2 separate regions of the Homo sapiens genome follow, and region 2 is linked to region 1. The links are contacts of gene promoters, found by promoter capture Hi-C in human tissues and cell types (Jung and others, 2019). All regions are on one chromosome and are shown on one strand. Each heading gives the region's core, a stretch centred on a gene start or on the middle of the fragment in contact. The rest is flanking DNA. Distances are from core to core; before and after follow the strand shown.

What was found. The method cuts DNA at HindIII sites, captures the fragments that hold promoters and counts their contacts. A contact is called where the count stands out against the background at its distance.
Region 2: a fragment that was not itself captured here is called in contact with the fragment with the promoter of CCSAP in region 1 in 1 of the 25 tissues and cell types used here (hippocampus).

What each region holds. Positions count from the first base shown.
Region 1 is chr1:229,340,648-229,344,946 of GRCh38, forward strand. CCSAP (centriole, cilia and spindle associated protein) reads right to left here and starts at 2,400. Exons shown (of 4, transcript NM_145257.5): 1 at 2,265-2,400; 2 at 1,452-1,866. The coding sequence starts at 1,818. RefSeq lists silencers at 1,449-1,648, 1,849-2,708, 3,555-3,849. The HindIII fragment of the contact is 5,214 bases long and covers 1-4,299 here.
Region 2 is chr1:230,376,819-230,381,117 of GRCh38, forward strand. The region is part of intron 1 of PGBD5 (piggyBac transposable element derived 5); the gene reads right to left. Among named protein-coding and RNA genes, the nearest start is that of PGBD5, 47 kb to the right of the region's middle. The HindIII fragment of the contact is 4,664 bases long and covers 1-4,299 here.

The DNA.
Region 1 (4,299 bases), core at 1,150-3,649:
TCAGGATTTGTGGGGATTCACAAGTAACATCATGATGGGAGGAGGCAGCCCTGCCTCCGATGATGAGCTGAAAATAGCTGAAGATGGTAAAACCAAGAGCAAAGCAACCCGGCTCATAGCCGAAATTTCATCTCCTCCTCAGCCTCTCACAGAGAAGCCAGGAAGAGTCTGATTGGCTTGCAATCGGGTAAACAAAAATAAACACATAAATGAATAAAGTCACTGATCCTGAGCTTCCGTTTTTTCATCTATAAAACTGAGATTAGGGCCGGGCATGGTGGCTCACTCCTGTAATCCCAACACTTTGGGAGGCCGAGGCGGGCGGATCACGAGGTGAGGAGTTTGAGACCAGCCTGACCAACATGGTGAAACCCCGTCTCCACTAAAAATACAAAAATTAGCCGGGCGTGGTGGCGCGTGCCTGTAATCCCAGCTACTCGGGAGGCTGAGGCAGGAGAATGACGTGAATCCGGGAGGCAGAGGTTGCAGTGAGCCGAGATCGCGCCACTGCGCTCCAGCCTGGGCCACAGAGCGAGACTCCGTCTCAAAAAAAAAAAAAAAAAAAGATTACAACATGGTCTCTTTTGGGATTGTTTTGAATATTAAATGACAACATACATATTCCCAGATCAGTGACTGAATGTCTAACAGGCTCCCAATACATTTTCCATGTTTTCCTCACTCGAGCCTTTTTAAAATCCAGTGATCTGGAAGGAACCATTGGTTACTCCAGGCTGTACTGAGGCGTTCAACTGGGTCCCCAGCCCTGCAAGCCTCTGGGCAGGAAAGAAGGTGAAGGGGCCATGCCTTGAAAACACGCGCAGCGCCACCGGCGCTTTCGGATCTGGACAGGCGAGGGAGGATGGGGAGGGACGGAAGGGGAGAGGCCCTAGCACTTATAAAGATGCTCTCACAGCCAAGTTATTCAACACTCCACGTAAACAAATGCAAAATATTCTTTAGGGACAGCGTAGCGAGGTCGGGGAGTTAATACGGAAAACAATGGCCCCATTCATCAGACAAAGCTTAGCTCTGTGGTTCTTAACCTTTTGGGTTACCTTTGAGAATCTGATTAAAGCTGGGGCTCCTCTGATCAAAAATGGGCGCCTAGAAATAAGCAGATGGGACTCAGTGGTTCGCCAAGAAATAAGATGGGATTCAGAGGTTTGCCAAGCCGCAGAGGCCCGCGAGGAAAGACCCCAGACTCAGCCAGCGGCGCTTCAATTGAGTTCACCGCTGGCTCGACCGAAAGCCACCTAATTAAGGAAATAAAGGGTGGCAAAGGCTGCCACCTTCCCTATTTTGTCAAGAGAGACGGATTCTGTCAACCGAAAAAAAAAAAAGGAAGAGCCAGCCCCGAGTGGCGCAAGAAATAAGAGATCAGCTGCTCAGAGCTTAGAGCAAACCGTCCCTGCGTGCAGGCCCCTCGCGCTCCCCTCCGGGCCGGGTACCTGGCAGAGCCGCGTCCTCCGCGTCCTCGGCCTCCGCGTCCCCGGCCTCCGCGTCCTGCTCCTCCGGGGCCCCGCGCGCCCGCCGTTCCGCCTCCTCCTGGGTCGCCGGCTCTACGGGCGGCGGGGGCGAGGGCGGGGCGCACCGGGGTGCGGGGCCCCCGGCGCCCGACGACTCTGACGACGCCGAGTCCTCCGAGGAGCCGGCCGGGCCCCAGTCGTCCCAGAGCCAGGGCGCGTGCGCCTGCTCCAGCAGCCGGCGGCCTAGGCGGTAGTGCAGCAGCTCGCGGTAGCACGGCCCGTACTCCTCCCAGCGCGGCTCCTGGTAGCGCTTCATGTACTCGCTCTTCACCCCGCTCCCCGGGGACATGGTGCCGTCCGCCGCCTCGAGCGCCAGCCGCTCCTCGCTGCCCGCAGCCTACGGGACCCGGTACACGACACAGAGGCCGCCCCGCCCCTCCGCCGGCCCTGCCCGCCGCGACGTTTAAACCCGGAGCCCCGCCCGGACGGGAGCAGGGGGCGGGTCCCGGCGAGGGCGGGGAGGGGGCGGGGCGGGGGCGGCCTCACCCGGCGGCCGGGACCAAGAGCAGAGGCGGGGACCGGGGCTGCTGGGGTCGAGGGGCGCGCCGCCGAGGAGGGCTGCTCAGTGGGCGGAAGGCAGGGAGGCTGCGGGCTGGGGCGAGGGGACCGCAGGAGACTGGGGCTGAGCGGGAGGAGGAGCGAGGGAGGGGAGCGGCGGGGCCCGTGATCGGGTGGTCCTGGGGTCTCCGGAGGCGTCCCCTGAGCTAGGCGTGCGGTCCCGCGGGGCTGCCTTACCTCCTTCCCGCCGCGCCCGGCCGATCCTCTGCGCCCAGGCCCGAGGCGCGCGTGGCGCAGCAGCTAAAGCGCAGCTCGCTCTCCCGCGCGCTTTCCTCCTGAGCAAGATGTCGCCGCGGCGGCCCGCGCTCCAGCTGCAGGCGGGAGGCGGTGGCGCCGCCTCAGTCCCGGAGCCTCCACGCGCGCTCCCGGCCCCCGGGCCTCCGCCCGCTCCGTGGGGGCGGCTGCTTCCGTAGAGAGCGCGAGGCGCGGGGGTGCGGGCGTGCCTGCCAGTCCGAGGGGCCCAGGCCCAGGTCCCTGGCCCACTTATTTGAGGTGCCCGTCCACCCTGGTCCCAGCAGACGCTGTCCCAGGCACGCGTCACTCTGCAGGAGTCGTCAGTTAGGGGCAAGAGATGATCCCTCCAGATATGCAGCCCCCCCAGGCTGCGGCCGGGGGCGACACTCTCTGTCCTCACTCGAAACCTACCGGTTCTTCCTCTCTGTGTTCACAACACCTGTTACTCTGGCTTTAACTCCCTTTTATATCTACACTCCCCAAATTCTTTTAGATTTTGATCAAAACCATTTCACTCGCTCAGAGATTCGTTTGCACATAAAAGCTTGACAGATTAACTTACGTTGTGCAGAAGTATACAAAGTTGTCCCATTTGTTACAGTTTCAAAAGTGGCCCCACACTCTTTTCCCTTTTTACACATAAAACCTTCACAGATCCAGTTACTTTGTGCAGAAGTATACAACGTTGCCCCATTTGTTACAGTTTCAAAAGTGGCCCCGCACTGTTTTCCCTTTTTGCTCATAAAACCTCCACAGATCCGGCTGAGCGCTGTGGCTCACGCCTGTAATCCCAGCATTTTGGGAGGCCGAGGCGGGTGGCTCACGAGGTCAGGAGATCGAGACCATCCTGGCTAACACAGTGAAACCCCATCTCTACTAAAAAAATAAAAATAAAAAGAATTAGCCCGGCGTGGTGGTGAACGGCTGTAGTCCCAGCTACTCGGGAGCCTGAGGCAGGAGAATGGCGTGAACCCGGGAGGCGGAGCTTGCAGTGAGCCTAGATTGCGCCACTGCACTCCAGCCTGGGCGACAGAGCAAGACTCCGTCTCAAAAAAAATAAAAAATAAAAAATAAAAACCTTCACAGATCCAGTTACATTGTACAGAAGAATACAACGTTGCCCCATTTGTTACAGTTTCAGAAGTGGTCCTGCACTATTTTCCCTTTCTTAAAAAAAGAGCCTTGATACAGTAGCTGCAAAAAGATTTGAAAGGAAAAAACTTTTGGAAAATCTAAATATATATATAGCAGTTAAAAAGCAAGCCCAGGCCGTGAGTAGCGCTCACGGCTTCCACGTCAGGATTCCCACGAATTCACCTACTTTCTACGTGTCCGCATCCTGCCTCCCACCACCACCGCCCACCTCATCATAGCTAAATGATTCAGAGGCGGCTACTGGCCCAAATGGGGCGGGTCAGACCGTCTGCTCTGAAAACTTGAAGTTACTAGTCCAATCATTAGCACGGGATTGTGTTAATGGCAGTTTTCTGGACGGAAACTCCAGGATACCCTGCTGCTAATGAGTCCGCGGACGCCATGATTTCTCCCCTTCCCAACTTTATTTTCTGTTCCTTGACTTACATTAGGGACATTCTAATGCACTTTCCTTTTGTTTAAGCTGGCTGGGGTTGGTTTCTGATGTTTGCAACCAAAGTAGCCTTAATAAAGATTGAATAAGGTGGGGAAATGGTTATATGTAGTTCTATGGGACATGCAGGACACCATCGGTTTCAGCTTTTGCTGCATAATTCACTCCAAAACTCAGTGGTTTAAAACAGCTAAGATTTATTATTTCTTATGATTCTGAGGGTTAGCTGGGCAGTTCCTCCGCAGTTGGATTCTGATGGAGAGACAGCAGGGCTGGAAGTTTCAAGATGACCTCCTGATATAGTTGGGATAATTCCTCCAAATCTGAAGTTGAAATTGATCCCCAATGTTGGAGGTGGGGCCTAGTGGGAAGTGTGTGGGTCATGGGGGC
Region 2 (4,299 bases), core at 1,059-3,558, 1.0 Mb after region 1:
TTCTCCAGGCAATAAGCAGGTCCTAACTTCATTGCTACTATTCCTACTGTAAGAAAGGGATAATCCTCCTTTGCTCACAAGACTGTCAGAAGGAGGCCTGGGATGGCATTTGTAAAGTGCTTAACACAGGGCCAGGCACTGACTAAGTGCTTAATAAACAGCAGCTACAATTACGGTCAGCTAGCAAGTAAGGGCCCACTCACAGAGAAAGGGCACTTCTCTGGGCATAGAGCTTCCTGCCTTTGGTGCAGAGCAGAGGTCAGTCTGGCTGGGTGCAGAAAAAGGCCCTTCCTAACTCCAAGTGCATACAGCCCCTAGATGAATGAGCTCCTAAATGCATAAGTGTAAGGTGCTGAGATTGACTACCTTGAAGCAAATGCCTTGAGATAAGAAGGAATGGTGGTTTACCTCCAACAGAAGAGAGGGACAGATGTCCTGCAGATGACTTAACCCTGATTCCAACATTGTGTGCCACTGTGGTTTGCAGAATCAGAGAGGTGAGCAGTGACTGTCATAGGCACAAAGAAGCAATGGCCATCCAGGTGAAATGCTGACATCAACACGTGATAAATCCTTCATAAAGGCAGAAGCTGTGATGATGATGATGAAGATGCCAATAACACATGGATGAAAAGATCTCTTGCCCAGAGCTGGAAGGGCCTTACTAAGACAGCTGTACCTGTGAATGAATCGCTTGGCTGCAGATCCCGGCCGGGCACTATGCTGAGCAACTGCAGCTCAGGTCCTGCAGAGTCCCCGAGAGTACTTTGCACGAAGAGAGCTCGAGTTCTGTAGTCAGGCATATCTGACCTACCGAACAGGTGCCCTGGTCAAGGTACATAATCCCACACAGCCTTCATTTCCCCATCTGTAAAATGGCAAAGATTAGAGTATCCACCTCAAAGAGTCATTGTGAGAATAAAATGAAATACTGTGCATAAAGCACAGTGCAGCATCCGGCTCATACATTTGGGATAAGCACTGGCCATCATTATGAATGCCGTCTGATGCAATGCTAGCATTTTGGGCATGTGCCTCCCAGTGCAGACATGGTAATCAGGCTCTTTCTTAAAGACCAGTGAGGCCAAATAAGAATGCAACTCTGGCTTGAATTTGAGTCTGAGGAGGAGCAATGTGATATTTATACAGACTGAAAATAGAAAACATGCACTCCTCATTGAGATCCCTTTCTGGCTACTCCTTTGAGTCCAAGTACAGAAAGCTCAGCAGGTGAGCATGTCACACGTTAGCAGACAAATACCAAACATACTTTTACTTCTGGAATCAAGAGCAGCAGAAGTTATTCTGGGAATGTTCATGTTCCTCCTGGTGGTGATGAGGATTTTAAGCTACCACATGGGACCTAGTATTGGACTGCTTCTATGCCCACCTTCCCTGGCCTCTCCGGTAGACACAGGATCTAACACAGCACAAAGAAATCAAATCACTGCCATTGCAGGGATTATAATGAAATGGTCATCAGGTGGTTCCTTCATAAACAGGATTTGCTGTCAAGTTAATGCTGAGTACAAAGATAAAATAGCCTCCTCCCGTCTTCCATCCCCTAAGGTCATAACTCAATCCCTTTTCTCTCTGTATTCAGAAATCTCCCAGTTACCTGGAGCCACATTGCTAGTTCATATATGCTCACCTACAAGCACCTGAGCATGCCTTTAGGGTCTGGGAAGAAATGACATCAGTAGTATAGCTTGGAGATGGGAGCTGGGATTTCTCCTGATTGTGTGTAGTTCTCTGAAGGAAGGTGCCACCTCTCTCTCCACCTCTGTTTGAACCACCGCCTACTTCTTGCCTGTTCTCTGTAAACCCTGCAAGGACAAATGCCCCCATAAAAGCTCTTCTCTGAGCTGCAGTACAGCCCTGAGCATGGAAGCTTCCCTTGCAGCCCGTAGATCTCAGCATGGCCAACATTTCCTGAAATGGGCAAAGACCATAATGTCTGGATGAGATAAGAAACCCTTTCACAGGCCTTCAGTCCTTCAGTCTTCTCAATAACCCTATGAATAGGGTTGATATTACTGTCTTTCATAAAGACACTGATGAGTCAACCCAAAGAAAGCAGCCATTGCCTGAGGTCCCAAGGTGATGTATGTACAAGGTGAAAGGAGCTGATGGCCAAGTCACGAGCCTGCAGAGCTGCAGCCACCTTGAGGGGACGTTTTTCTGTTCAACAAAGCCACCCCAAGGACTAGGGGGAGCCTAAGGGAACCCATCTGATGCCTCACAACCAACCATGGCCTCACTCACATGACTTCCGATTCTTACTTCCAGTCCAGCCACTGTCCTGAGCCAATCCCTAGATGTCCAACTCTAGGGGAGGAAAGACTGCGCCCAGCATGCCAAACCTCACCCACCTGCTGCCTGCCCAACCTGCTCTCCTGCTTTGTGACCAGCACCCCATTCACTTAGTAATTCATGCCACAACCCTGGCGACCTCCTTTCAACCCCTGCTCCTCACCTCCACTTCCACATCCCATCCACAAGCTCCACGTTCAAATTACTCTCTCCAAGTCCCATCTGCCCATTCCAGGATGCCGGCTCTCCACCAGGTCCCCTCAGGATCTCTTCAGGCTGACTGTAGTAGCCTGCTAATCAGACTCTGTTTCCATCATTATTAGAATTAACTTTCAAAAACACAATTCTCATCATACCATACCCCTCACTGAAATGCCCCATTGGCTCTTCAATGCCTACCTCCACTTTCTGTACCTTTTCAGTTTCAGCTGTACTAAAATACTCATGTTCACCAGCATGCAATGCCCTTCAGGCCTCCTTGCTCTTGCATTGTTAACTGGTCATCTTCCACACACTCATTCCTACTTCAATACCCAGCTCAACTAGCCTGTTGGCACCCCAGAGGTAGTTCCTCCTTCCTCTGCACCCTCGTAGTGATCGATCCACCTCTCTGATTTGATAAACAGAGCCAACAGTTACCAACCATGTCCTCTACAGTGCGAGGTGCTTTTCTAGGCACTGACACATGTTGGCTCATTTAATCTGCATCCTCCCCTCTGAAATCTTATCATCATCCCCATTTTACAGATGAAGAAAACTGAAGCCAGAGATTCAGGGACTTGCCCAAGTGGCGGGATTTGAACCCAGGAAGTCTGGCTCCTGCACCTCATTTCTTCATTACTACCCTCAGCATACTGGATTGTAATTACTGATTTCATGTTTATCTACTGTGCAGAGCTGGACAGGGCTAGGCAATTCCACAGAGCAGGGGCCGTGTGCTATTTACATTTGCAGACCCAGAGTGCAGCAAATGTCACACACCTGGTAGGAGTTTGTGATGCATCTGTCCAAAGGCAGATAGGAGGCCAGCTCCAGATGAATGGGTCTGCTAGATACTTTCTAAGTTAATTAAGTCAAATGGACTTCCCTTGTAATCACAGGATAGAAAACAAAGCCCTGTGTGGAAGAGACAGGCAGTACTTTCATGCCATTTTCCTTTACTTAATTACACAGAGAAATTAATCCTACTGTGAGTTACTAATTCAGATGCCAGACCAGTGTCACTGGCAGCCACAGGGCGCTCTGCCTCCCTGTGCTGGGCCCTCTGGGCAGGGCATACCTAAGTGGGGCCCTGCAGGGTTCCTTCCAGGTGCTCACCCTAAAGGCTGGTCACTTGTGGTGGAAACTGACACCCACCACTACCGTCTTGGGCAGAACCAGCACCTCCTTCCCCTCCCGGCTCTCCAAGTGGACATAAGCAACAGCCCCTCACTCTTGCTGCCAAGAATCTGTGCATCTGCAGGAAGGAGAAAGGAGATGCAAGGTACTATCCATGCCAAGCCCAGGTTATGGCTTTAGGGTTTCCAAAGAAAACCCTGTAAGCAAATGCACACCTGGTGAAGAGGGAAGCTATACAGGTCAGCACCCACACCTGTACTCAAGAACCAGGTGCATCAATCTCTGCTTTCAAGACCCTGTGTCTTGGGCTCAATCACAGCTTGTGCAGGGCTCTGTCCACCAAAAGGCTCAACAGTCAAGAGAAAGCTTAAGTGGAATAAAGACAGGAGCAGCTGAAGTGGCCCAAGAGATGGCAATGGCTGGAATCAACCCAGAAACGGTAAAGGGAAGAGTCAGAGTGCTAGGCCCTGTGGACACGGATGGCTCTGGGAGCCCCGCTCAGGAGTGGGTGGCCGTCTGCGGCCGTGTTCTCCCTAGAGAGGAGTGACAATGAGGCAAACACCATCCACGTGCACAGTGCTTACAGTTTATAAACCTGCTGTCACACACACTTCTGCCCTTCTCCCAGTGAACCTCTGAAATACCTAT